3 separate regions of the Homo sapiens genome follow, and all the other regions are linked to region 3. The links are contacts of gene promoters, found by promoter capture Hi-C in human tissues and cell types (Jung and others, 2019). All regions are on one chromosome and are shown on one strand. Each heading gives the region's core, a stretch centred on a gene start or on the middle of the fragment in contact. The rest is flanking DNA. Distances are from core to core; before and after follow the strand shown. Region 1 overlaps P4HA1 (prolyl 4-hydroxylase subunit alpha 1). Region 2 overlaps P4HA1 (prolyl 4-hydroxylase subunit alpha 1). Region 3 holds the start of OIT3 (oncoprotein induced transcript 3).

Region 1 (3,984 bases), core at 865-3,364, 130 kb after region 3:
TGCCTCTGTAGACTCCACCTCTGTGGGCAGGGCATAGCTGAACAAAAGCCAGCAGACAACTTCTGCAGACTTAAACGTCCCTGTCTGACAGCTCTGAAGAGAGCAGTGGTTCTCCCAGGATGGCATTTGAGCTCTGAGAACCAAAGACTGCCTCCTCAAGAGGGTCCCTGACCCCCGTGTAGCCTAACTGGGGGAAACCTCCCAGTAGGGGCCGACAGACACCTCATACAGGCGGGTGCCCCTCTGGGATGAAGCTTCCAGAGGAAGGATCAGGCAGCAATATTTGCTGTTCTGCATCCTCTGCTGGTGATACCCAGGCAAACAGCGTCTGGAATGGACCTCCAGCAAACTCCAACAGACCTGCAGCTGAGGGACCTGACTGTTAGAAGGAAAACTAACAGAAAGGAATAGCATCAACATCAACAAAAAGGTCATCTACACCAAAACCCCATCTGTAGGTCACCAACATCGAAGGCCAAAGGTAGACAAAACCACAAAGATGGGGAGAAACCAGAGCAGAAAAGCTGAAACTTCTAAAGATCAGAGCACCTCCTCTCCTCCAAAGGACTGCAGCTCCTCACAAGCAACAGAACAAAGCTGGACAGAGAATGACTTTGATGAGCTGACAGAAGTAGGCTTCAGAAGGTCGGTAATAACAAACCTCCCAGCTAAAGAAGCATGTTCTAAGCCATCGCAAGGAAGCTAAAACCCTTGAAAAAAGGTTAGACGAATGGCTAACTAGAACAAACAGTGTAGAGAAGACCTTGAATGACCTGATGGAGCTGAAAACCATGGCATAAGAACGTCATGGTGCATGCACAAGCTTCGGTAGCCGATTTGATCAAGTGGAACAAAGGGTATCAGTGATTGAAGATGGAATTAATGAAATAAAGCAAGAAGACAAGTTTAGAGAAAAATGAGTAGAAAGAAACAAATAAAGCCTCCAAGAAATATGGGACTATCTAAAAAGACCAAATCTATGTTTGATTGGTGTACACCTGAAAGTGACGGGGAGAATGGAAACAGGCTGAAAAACACTATTCAGGAAATTATCCAGGAGAATTTCCCCAACCTAGCAAGGCAGGCCAACAGTCAAATTCAGAAATACAGAGAACACCACAAAGATACTTCTCGAGAAGAGCAACCACAAGACACGTAATTGTCAGATTCACCAAGGCTGAAATGAAGGAAAAAATCTTAAGGGCAGCCAGAGAGAAAGGTCGGGTTACCCACAAAGGGAGGCCCATCAGACTAACAGTGGATCTCTCTGCAGAAACCCTACAAGCAAGAAGAGAGTGGGGGCCAATATTCAACATTCTTAAAAAAAAGAATTTTCAACCCAGAATTTCATATCCAGCCAAACTAAGCTTTCTAAATAAAGGAGAAATAAAATCCTTTGCAGACAAGCAAATGCTGAGAGATTTTGTCACCACCAGGCCTGTCTTACAAGAGCTCCTGAAGGAAGCACTAAACATGGAAAGGAACAACTGGTACCAGCCACTGCAAAAACATGCCAAATTATAAAGACCATCGATGCTATGAAGAAACCGCATCAATTAACGAGCAAAATAACCAGCGAACATCATAATGACAGGATCAAATTCACATATAACAATATTAGCCTTAAATGTAAATGGGCTAAATGTCCCAATGAAAAGGCACAGACTGGCAAATTGGATAAAGAGTCAAGACCCATCAGGAGACACATCTCATGTGCAGAGACACACATAGGCTCAAAATAAAGGGATGGAGGAAGATCTACGAAGCAAATGGAAAGAAAAAAAAAAAAAAAAGCAGCGGCTGCAATCCTAGTCTCTGATCAAACAGACTTTAAACCAACACAGATCAAAAGAGACAAAGAAGGCCATTACGTAATGGTATAGGGATCAATTCAACAAGAAGTGCTAACTATTCTAAATATATATGCACCCAATACAGGGGCACCCAGATTCATAAGGCAAGTCCTTAGAGTCCTAAAAAGAGACTTAGACTCTCACACAATAATAATGAGAGACTTTAACACTCCACTGTCAATATGAGATCAACAAGACAGAAGGTTAACAAGAATATCCAGGACTGGAACTCAGCTCTGCACTAAGCAGACCATTATAATAGACATCTACAGAACTCTGTCCACCCCAAATCAACAGAATATACATTCTTCTCAGCACCACATCACACTTATTCTAAAACTGACCACATAATTGGAAGTAAAGCACTCCTCAGCAAATGTAAAAGAACAGAAATCACAACAAACTGTCTCTCAGACCACAGTGCAATCAAATTAGAACTCAGGATTAAGAAACTCACTCAAAACCACACAACTACATGGAAACTGAACAACCTGCTCCTGAATGACTACTGGGTAAATAACGAAATGAAGGCAGAAATAAACATGTTCTTTGAAACCAATGAGAACAAAGACACAACGTACCAGAATCTCTGGGACACATTTAAAGCAGTGTAGAGGAAAATTTATAGCACTAAATGCCCACAAGAGAAAGCAAGAAAGACCTAAAATCGACACCCTAACATCACAATTAAAAGAACAAGAGAAGCAAGAGCAAACAAATTCAAAAGCTAGCAGAAGGCAAGAAATAACTCAGATCAAAGCAGAACTGAAAGAGATACAGACATAAAAAACCCTTCAAAAAATCAATGAATCCAGGAGCTGGTTTTTTGAAAAGATCAACAAAATTGATAGACAGCTAGCAAGACTAATAAAGAAGAAAAGAGAGAATAATCAAATAGACACAGTAAAAAATGATAAAGGGGATATCACCACAGATCCCACAGAAATACAAACTACCATCAGAGAATACTATAAACACCTCTATGCAAATAAACTAGAAAATCTAGAAGAAATGGATAAATTCCTGGACACATACACCCAAGACCAAACCAGGAAGAAGTTGAATCTCTGAATAGAAAAATAACAGACTCTGAAATTGAGGCAATAACAGCCTACCAACTAAAAAAAGTTCAGGACCAGATGGATTCACAGCCGAATTCTATCAGAGGTACTAAGAGGAGCTGGTACCATTCCTTCTGAAACTATTCCAATCAACAGAAAAAGAGGGAATCCTCCCTAACTCATTTTATGAGGCCAGTATCATCCTGATACCAAAGCCTGGCAGAGACACAACAAAAAAAGAGAATTTTAGGCCAATATCGCTGATGAACATCGACGCAAAAATCCAACCGAATCCAGCAGCACATCAAAAAGCTTATCCACCACAATCAAGTCAGCTTCATCCCTGGGATGCAAGGCTGGTTCAACATACACAAATCAATAAACGTAATCCATCACATAAACAGAACCAATGACAAAAACCACATGATTATCTCAATAGATGCAGAAAAGGCCTTTGACAAAATTCAACAGCCCTTCATGCTGAAAATGCGGTAAACTAGGTATTGATGGAACATATCTCAAAATAATAAGAGCTATTTATGACAAACCCACAGCCAATATCATACTGAATGGGCAAAAACTGGAAGCACTGTTTGAAATCCGGCACAAGACAAGGATACCCTCCCTCACCACTCCTATTCAACATAGTGTTGGAAGTTCTGGCCAGGGCAATAAGGCAAGAGAAAGAAATAAAGGGTATTCAATTAGGAAAACAGGAAGTCAAATTGTCCCTGTTTGCAGATGACATGATTGTATATTTAGAAAACCCCATTGTCTCAGCCCAAAATCTCCTTAAGCTGATAAGCAACTTCAGCAAAGTCTCAGGATACAAAATCAATGTGCAAAAATCACAAGCATTCCTATATACCAATAACAGACAGAGAGCCAAATCATGAGTGAACTCCCATTCACAATTGCTACAAAGAGAATAAAATACCTAGGAATCCAACTTACAAGGGATGTGAAGAACCTCTTCAAGGAGAACTACAAACCACTGCTCAACGAAATAAAAGAGGACACAAATGGAAGAACATTCCATGCTCATGGATAGGAAGAATCAATATCGTGAA
Region 2 (4,602 bases), core at 186-2,685, 200 kb after region 3:
CCTGGGCTCAAGCAGTCCTCCTGCCTCGGCCACCCAAAGGGTTGGGATTACAGGCCTAAGCCACTGTGCCTGACCTTGAGGATACTCTTGAAGGTGATGGATATGTTCCTTATCTTGATTGTACTGATATTTTTTTAAGTAGATATTTTTGTCAAATTTATCAAATTGTACACTGTAAATATATGCAATTTGTCCTGTCAATTTTGCTCAATAAAGTCGTTAAAATATATCAGTTTATTCAATTTATTAGTAATCACCCTTATATCAAAGATTAGTGTTTTACTTATTACTATCACTCTACTTGGTGGCAATGGTCACTATTCACTATTTTCAAATACAATATTAAGGTTTTTTAAATTCAGGCATAGTAAATTGAGGTCTATTTTCAAAATATCTTTGAGGTTAAAGGAAGTAACTGCAGGCCAGGTGCGGTGGCTCATGCCTGTAATCCCAGCACTTTGGGAGGCCGAGGCTGATGGATCACCCCCGGTCAGGAGTTCGAGACCCGCCCGGCCAAGATGGTGACACCCTGTCTCTACTAAAAATACAAAAAAGTAGTCGGGCGTGGTGGCGGGTGCCTGTAATCCCAGCTACTCGGGAGGCTGAGGCAGAGAATTGCTTGAACCCAGGAGGCAGAGGTTGCCGTGAACCGAGATTGCGCCACTGCACTCCAGCCTGGGTGACAGAGTGAGAGTCCATCTCAAAAAAAAAAAAAAAAAAAAAAAAGAAGTAACTAAATTTTGAAATCATGTAAATTTGAGAATGTCTTCATGTAACCTTTGACTATGAATATGTTGCCTGAGTTTACCAAAAAAATAAATAAATAAATAAATAAATAAATAAAAAGGAGGAAGGTTGTCAGAACCATAGGGCAAGAACAAAGGTCACACACACAAGTAACATTTTGAGGTCCTAAATTCAACCAGTAGGTTTTAGAAATACCAACTTTTTTTGTTTTTTTGAGACAGGGTCTGGCTCTGTCACCCAGGCTGGAGTGGAGTGGAACAATCAGAGCTCACAGCAGCCTTGAACTCCTGGGCTCCAGAGATCTTCCCACCTCAGCCTCCCAAAGCACTGGGATTACAGATGTGAGCCACCACGCCTAGACTAAAATAAACATTTCTTGATCATATTTTTGGAGAAATTAGATATGCAAATCTAGTTAATATAAGATTAGAACTGTAAGAGAAGTCTTGAGCCTACTTAAAATCAGTTAATCAATATTTAATTTATTGTTGCAGACACATGTAACAGGATATCTGATGCTTCATACACTGTTCAATGCCTTTTAATTTTATGACTTGTATGATAGTTCTCGGCTATTCATTCTTGGGTTTTACTGAAGTTCCAAAAATCAAAGAGCTTTGATTCTTGTAATGGAAATATCTAGAGAAACTTGTGTTTAACTGACTCGGCAGAGATGAAGGCCAAATTCTCATATGTACCTATAACATTACTCAAATACTATTCTTAGTACAAAAAAGTTAAATATACTCTTATCTCTGAACATGAGCTATTCAGACCAAGGCCACTCAGGTCAGAGTAGAATACTCAAAAGCTGGCTTTAGCAGTCCCTTTCCTCCTAAAAAATGGATTATTGCTCTGAGGCCCAGGTATACTCAGCTTCATCCCTCCCAAGGCTATTCTGTCAAAATTCCACTTTTATTTCCACCCAGTCTACCTCTTTCTAGTCTTCAATTATCTGTTTACTCTAATGCCAGATCCAAATTTCTCAAGTTGAGGTAAAGAGAGACAAAATAAGACCATGTATACTAGAACAGGGAAAAATGAATTCATGGTTGTAGAGGATGTGAATCTAGATATGCATTTCCATTCAGTGCTACAGATTTAATATCTAGTAAAATGTTAGCCACATGGTGCTATATCATGTAATTTTTATGTCCTACTTCTCCTATGAAACATTTCTCATCATTCTTGATTTTCCTACAGTCTACTGGCCATATTGTAAATAATTTTTTTTTCTTTTCTTTTTTTTTTTTTTTTTTTTAGAGACAGGGTCTTGCACTCTCACCCAGGCTAGAGTGCAATGGTGCTATCATAGCTCACTGCAGCTTCCAACTCTTGGGCTCAAGCGACCCTCCCACCTCAGCCTCCCAAGTAGTTAGACTACAGATGCATGCAACCTCATGCCCCCTTAATTAAAAAAAAATTTTTTTTGTAGAGAGATGGGGTCTCACTATGCTGACCAGGCTGGTCTTGAACTCCTGGCCTCAAGTGATCCTCCTGCCTCGGCCTTCCAAAGTGCTGTGATTACAGGTGTGAGCCACCATGCCTGGGCAACATAGTAAGGCCCTGTCTCTAAAAAAAAAAAAATTTAAATATAAATTTAAAAATTAAAAAATTGGTTAAAGTTTACTGTAATTATACAGGTTGATAAAATAAACCACTAAATTACAGTCCTCTCTTTGCACTACTTATAATGGAGAAACAGCTCAAGTGTCCAACAAGAGAGTAAGGATGACCAGGCATGGTGGCTCACACCTATAATCCCAACACTTTGTGGGGCAGATGGGAGAATCACTTGAGGCCAGGAGTTCGAGACTAGCCTGGTCAACAGAGCAAGATCCCATCTCTACAAAAAATTAAAAAATTAGCTAGACATGGTGGCATGCATCTGTACCCCGAGCTACACCCGGAGGCTGAGGCAGAAGGATTGCTTGAGCCCAGGAGTTCAAGGCTGCAGTGAGCTATGGTCACACCACTGCACTCCATCCTGGGCAACAGAGCAAGATCCTATCTCTTAAAAAAAAAAAAAAAAGAGAGAGTAAGGCTGAGTGTACTAATTCCACATAATATTACTATTTAAGAAAGAAATGAGTAATATGGACACATTTTTATGAAACACTAAACATGAGGAAGAGAAAGGCCCAATATAGAACTCATTCACTGATGACAACTAGGTAAGAAGTCTGAATCTCTATAATGTATTTTTAGCAAATGTCAAATCAAATATACTAACAGTCATACTGATCATCCAAAGGAAGACCAGGAAAAAGAATGTTTTTCACCACACCGAGTTTAAAAACTGCTGGAGTAACCTAAATGAGAGTCCTTTTGAATTGCCAAAGCTTTTCTTTAGGTACAATACTTATTCAACTAGAGAAACTGAAGCTGTCCTAATGACAGGACAGCTTCAATTTATACAAATAAATTTTCTTGAATAGAAACACAAAGCTTTGGCCGGGCACGGTGGCGTGATCACACCTGTAATCCCAGCACTTTGGGAGGCCAAGGCGGGCAGATCACGAGGTAAAGAGATCGAGACCATCCTGGTTAACACGGTGTAACCCCGTCTCTACTAAAAATACAAAAAATTAGCTGGGCGTGATGGTGGGCGGCTGTAGTCCCAGCTACTCGGGAGGCTTAGGCAGGAGAATGGCGTGAACCCGGGAGGTGGAGCTTGCAGTGGGCCGAGATTGCACCACTGCACTCCAGCCTGGGTGGCAGAGTGAAACTCCATCTCAAAAAAAAAAAAAAAAAAAAAAAAAAAAAAAATATATATATATATATATATATATATATATATATACACACACACACACACACACATACTCATTTTATTTGGATTTTTTATATATATTCATATATTTATACACACACAACACATTATGGTTTAATTACAAGATTCAAGATCTCACTGCAAGAAAAGCAATAAAGTTTAATGCCAAGAGCCTATGCAATTTATTTTTGTTTACTTCCAAGCCTGTTCCACTTTCAGAATGGAAAACCAAAGTTAAGTTACCATATATAGGAGAGGGCATGCAATGTGATATACTTTCACAGACTAGACAATTTAGCATTTCAACAATTCTAACAACCTATTAACTTTTGTTAAAACCCTTTTGGCAAAAATGTATTAGGGTCACCCACATATACAAGTCCAGTCAGACTTACATGCCCAGCTCGATTTTCAGAAACATTCAATACTGCCTCAAGACACCTAGATACCCTTAGAGAGTAACTTCACATCTCTTACTTTTTAGGGGTTCTTATAATAAAGTTCATGAATGGACTTGAGTGGGGGGGCAGGAAGTGACATACAAAATTCCATGTAGGGTGTATTTGCATTTTCTGACATAGGACCACACCTTTCATCAGATTCTCAAAGGATTTCATGACCTTAAAATAGTTTGAGAACCACTATTATGTATCTCACAGGTCAATTCAAGAGCAATAATTATATCCTAGTTGATAACTGGTTGCTAAGTAAAATAAAGCATTCCTTCCACAGAAAGGAAGGCTCACAAGCTTTATGGCTGTCCCAGCTCTTGCTGCATCTCTGGAATAAATGCCGTTTGAACTTAATTGCCCTACTGAAAAACACTGCTTTTCAGTATACAACTTATTCTGCACTAATAGAAAAGGTTAACAGCTCCTTGCCAAAAAGCCAAGATTCATCTGCAACAACCCAGACTACAAGGCAATATAAAACTTTTTTTCAATAGTCTTTTGCACTAATTTTTTTGGCATAATTAAAAGTTGTACACATTTTTCAACTGTTTTACCATCTAAGTTACCAAAACACAAAATGGCCAATGTAATTATCCGCCTACCAAAGTCCTGATTTTCAGTACTTCAAAA
Region 3 (4,638 bases), core at 1,450-3,949:
TTGGGTTTCCGTTCGTAAATCTGTGACTACTTCTTGGTCTCCTTTACAGCGTCCTATTCCTCTGCCCACATCTGTGATATTAGGCTTCCCCAAGGTTCCATCTTGGACCCCATTTTCCATGGGTGTGATCTCACCCCTCTCCCCTATTTAAATTACCATTTATATGTTGGTAGCTCTCAAATTGTTACTCTAGCTCAGATATATCCTAGACTGATTTATCCTCTTCGTAACTGGTCTATTTCTAGCATTGCCTTCTGTACATTAAATTCTCTCAATGTCACCAGAGTATTTTTGTTTTTAAATTCTAATAGCACATAATTTAGAAAAATTGTAACATATGAACAAGCATTAACATTAAATATGGGGGAGGAAAGACTACAAGACACCACAAAGAAGCAATTCACCAAACCCAAAACGTGGAACATTCTGTAGGACAAATGATGGGGTTTCTTCAACAAATGGAAGGAAGGGGGGAAGACCATTATGGATAAAAATATATATATATATATATATTTTTTTTTTGAAACGGAGTCTCCCTCTGTTGCCTAGGCTGGAGTCCAGTGGCACAATCTCGGCTCACTGTAACCTCTGCCTCCCAGGTTCAAGTGATTTTCCTGTCTCAGCCTCCCAAGAAGCTGGGATTACAGACGTGCACCATCACACTTGGCTAGTTTTGCATTTTTAATAGAGATGGGGTTTCACCATGTTGGCCGGGCTGGTCTCGAACTCCTGACCTCAGGTGATCCACCCACCTTGGCCTCCCAAAGTGCTGGGATTACAGGTGTGAGCCACTGCACCCAGCTGATAAAAATAAATTTAAGTGACAATCAAAATGCAATATATAAATCTTGTTTGGATCCTGACTCAACCCAGCAATAAAAGGAATATTTGGAACTATTGGAGCAATTTAAATATGGATTGGATATGAGTTAAGGAATTATTACTAATTTTCATAGTTGTAATAAAAGCATCATGATTATGTAAAAAAATACAATGTGTTAGAAATGCATACTGGTATGTAAATGAAATTGATAGAATGTTAGTAATTATTATAGCTGAGTGTTCATTATTGTTCTTTATACTTTTGTATATATATTTGAAATTTTTCATCATAAAAAGTAAAAAATGAAAGAGCAGGTCAACTAAAAAGGAAAAAATAGAAATAAGGGGGAAAAAACATCTTACCATCCTGGGAATTCTTGTTTACAGAACCAAAGGCTATCTGGTGAAAGTCCTTGACTCCAGCAATCAATCCTGGCAACAAGTCTGGGTTTATCTCATGCACACGTCCTCTGTTTCTCTGCAACACATATGAAGCCCTCAGATGGCTTCCTAGGCGCAGGAAGTTGTGGGGGATTGTTTTTTCTGTTTAAAGCACTGATACTTAGCAACACTATCCTGCAATGAGACAGCAGAGTCATCCATTGCTGCCATCAAACCACAACTTAATAAGTTAATGGTCAAATTGCCTGTGTCCCACTGATGTTAGTAATGAAGTAGCTAACTACAATTTTAGATCAATGGAAACCCCTTGCTTGACCATAAACCCTGTGCTTCTGGAGACCATGTGTACTTTTGTCATTGTCAAAAACCAGTGATTGCCCGAGCTCGGTGGCTCACACCTGTAATCCCAGCACTTTGGGAGGCCAAGGCAGGCGGATCACGAGGTCAGGAGATCGAGACCATCCTGGCTAACACAGTGAAACCCTGTCTCTACTAAAAATACAAAAAAATTAGCTGGGCGTGGTGGTGGGCGCCTATAGTCCCAGTTACTTGGGAGGCTGAGGCAGGAGAATGGCGTGAACCCGGGAGGCGAAGCTTGCAATGAGCCGAGATCACACCACTGCACTCCAGCCTGAGCGACAGAGTAAGACTCCGTCTGAAAAAAAAAATTGTGCTAAGAAGCACATTTTCTCTCCTTTGTCTAAAAGTGAAACTTCAGGAAATTTTGACATTTAATTTTCCAGAGTGTTAATTTAATGAGTAGTTTCTAATTTTAAGCTCCTACCCCATCTTAATGTGAGAATTAGTGAAATAAATAACATTAAACCATTTTTTAATTTTGGGAGTAAAGACAATAAAAATATGAGGTATTGCTGCTTGAATTAGTAAAAACACAATTTAAACCTTGTTTCTTTCAGAAGTTTTGAGGCCAAAGACCGTAATAAAACAAACTCAGGAGCTTATTTCAAGAGAATACTGTCCTTGTCTCATACCTGTCCTTACTACTTTGTTTTGTGTGCTATTATAAGCTCCTCAACCATCTGACCAAGACAGTTGCAGTGATTTGGCTTCATCCATTCTCGTTTAGTGTGCAGTGCTATGGCTGCAACATTGTGAAATCAATTCCTAGAAGTCACAAAGCAAGAATTTGACGTGAAGGGATGTCCCTCATTTAGAATTCCCTTCTGGATAAGATACTGGGGTTTCATTGCAGGGAATTCTTGAGAGAAAACAATAGGAGGATGAGGGATTGTGAGTTGTGTTTTTTTTTTTTTTTCCTAAAGAAAACTATTAATAAAGGAACCCTGTTGACAGTGTAAAGCAGTGCTTCTCTCTGGGGCCAAGGCCAGAGCTGTGGACACCTTATCCCACTCATCCTCATCCTCTTCCTCTGATAAAGCCCCTACCAGTGCTGATAAAGTCTTTCTCGTGAGAGCCTAGAGGCCTTAAAAAAAAAAGTGCTTGAAAGAGAAGGGGACAAAGGAACACCAGTATTAAGAGGATTTTCCAGTGTTTCTGGCAGTTGGTCCAGAAGGATGCCTCCATTCCTGCTTCTCACCTGCCTCTTCATCACAGGCACCTCCGTGTCACCCGTGGGTGAGTCTCATGTCAAGAACTTGGCACAATGCACTTTTTGTTGTGGCAATTTGCTATAATGTACAGATGATTAAGAACTAGATTCCAGTACCTTAAATGCTAGCTCTAGAATCTTGTAAGAAAAGTCCCTAATAATCCTTGAAAATAGATTTCCCGAGAATTTCTGTTACATGTTCCATTTAGCCTCTTGCCTGGACTCCAAAATTTCCATGGATCTGCCATATCCCACAGCTTTCACTAGCTAAAGAGTTCCTGGAGTATGTGTAAAAATAATTCTATCTTCTTTGTGTTCTAGGCACTTTATAGTTCCAACTTGAAGAGCCAAAAAAAAAAAAATTAAAGTTGAGCATAGAATTTTTCTTTAATGAAGGCAAGGGACTGAAAGCTCTGTTGCCATGGGGGGCACAGATCTGGATAAACCAAACTCATTAGTCTTTATGTCAGAAAATAAGACTTTTTGCACAGATCGAGTGAATCTTAAATTGTCTCCCTCCTCAGGCTTGGTGCAAAACTGGCCAGTCAGGCAAAGAAAAGTTTCAATTCCAGTTACTAACAGATTTCTCTCTTGCATCTTTTTCTAGTAGAATGTGAGTACTAACTGGAACAGAGGGTGGGGGTGAGATGGAGAGAACCATCCTTCTTGACACTTTTGAGTAGCTCAGTATCTAATTGACCCTGGCTTATTTCTTCATGGTTGCTCTAGTACCTGAAAGGATACACATTAAAAATAGGCTTGTGGCCAGGCACGGTGGCTCACACTTGTAATGCCAGCATTTGAGAGGCCAAGGCGGGTGGATCACCTGAGGTCAGGAGTTCAAGACCAGCCTGGCCAACATGGTGAAACTCCGTCTCTACTAAAAATACATACACACAAAAAAATTAGATGGTCATGGTGTTGCATGCCTGTAATTCCAGCTACTTGGGAGGCTGAGGCGGGAGAATCACTTGAACTCGGGATGTGGAGGTTGCAGTGAGCCGAGATCGAACCACTGCACTCCAGCCTGGGCAACAGAGGGAGACTCCATCTCAAAAAAATAAAAATAAAAATAAAAATGGTGATTTGAGACCCTAAGGAGACCTGACACCTAAAGGTAATGTGGGATCCTGGAACAGAAAGATATGGGTGGAAACTAAGGGAATCTGAATAAGTGTGGACTTGAGTTAATAATCAGGTATCAATAGTGGGTCATTAATGTGACAAAGGTACCATGCCAATGTGTGGTAAATGTATGGCTAAAGGTAACGTGTCATAACAAGGGAAACTGGGTGTGGGGTATGTGGGATCTCTTTGTCCTATCATCTCAATTATGCTGTAAATCCAAAACTATTCCAAAAAATATGCTTGAGCTACCTGTCATTAATCACCCCCTATCTGCTGCCAATAACTAACCCAAGGGTCGCTCAGAAAGTTGTCCTCCCGAAAATCTCCACTCCCCTTTCTTCCCACCCTTCTCCTTACCTATTCTCCCTCTAGTACCTCCTATATTCCCCATTCTTTCCATATACCATCGCCCTTCCCAGATCTTTTCCTCCAACCCCCAGCTCCTCAAGGATGATATTTGGCTCAATGCCAGAAGCATGATAAAGGGGGAACTTTGGGAACTAGAGCTGGTGTTTGCCCTGAGAGGACAGGGGAAGTGAGAGAAGAGGAAAAGAAGGGATGAGAAAGGGGGAAGCAAAGTGGGGTGATGAGGGAGGAGGATGGAAGAGGATGGAGCAGGAAAGGAGGGGCACTTCCCGACCAAGCTCAGGCACAGGGTCGAAAAGGGGCTGTGATTCAGGGGCGGCTGTCTGCCGGATAGGACCTGGAGGGTTGGA

Evidence for each region. The method cuts DNA at HindIII sites, captures the fragments that hold promoters and counts their contacts. A contact is called where the count stands out against the background at its distance.
Region 1: a contact is called between a fragment that was not itself captured here and the fragment with the promoter of OIT3 in region 3, in 3 of the 25 tissues and cell types used here (dorsolateral prefrontal cortex, mesendoderm cells and pancreas).
Region 2: a fragment that was not itself captured here is called in contact with the fragment with the promoter of OIT3 in region 3 in 1 of the 25 tissues and cell types used here (aorta).

The regions. Positions count from the first base shown.
Region 1 is chr10:73,022,032-73,026,015 of GRCh38, forward strand. The region is part of intron 10 of P4HA1 (prolyl 4-hydroxylase subunit alpha 1); the gene reads right to left. Among named protein-coding and RNA genes, the nearest start is that of PLA2G12B, 69 kb to the left of the region's middle. The HindIII fragment of the contact is 5,177 bases long and covers 1-3,984 here.
Region 2 is chr10:73,090,359-73,094,960 of GRCh38, forward strand. The region is part of intron 1 of P4HA1 (prolyl 4-hydroxylase subunit alpha 1); the gene reads right to left. Among named protein-coding and RNA genes, the nearest start is that of P4HA1, 4.2 kb to the right of the region's middle. The HindIII fragment of the contact is 7,132 bases long and covers 1-4,602 here.
Region 3 is chr10:72,891,040-72,895,677 of GRCh38, forward strand. It overlaps OIT3 (oncoprotein induced transcript 3), which reads left to right and starts at 2,700. Exons shown (of 9, transcript NM_152635.3): 1 at 2,700-2,820. The coding sequence starts at 2,760. The HindIII fragment of the contact is 12,875 bases long and covers 1-4,638 here.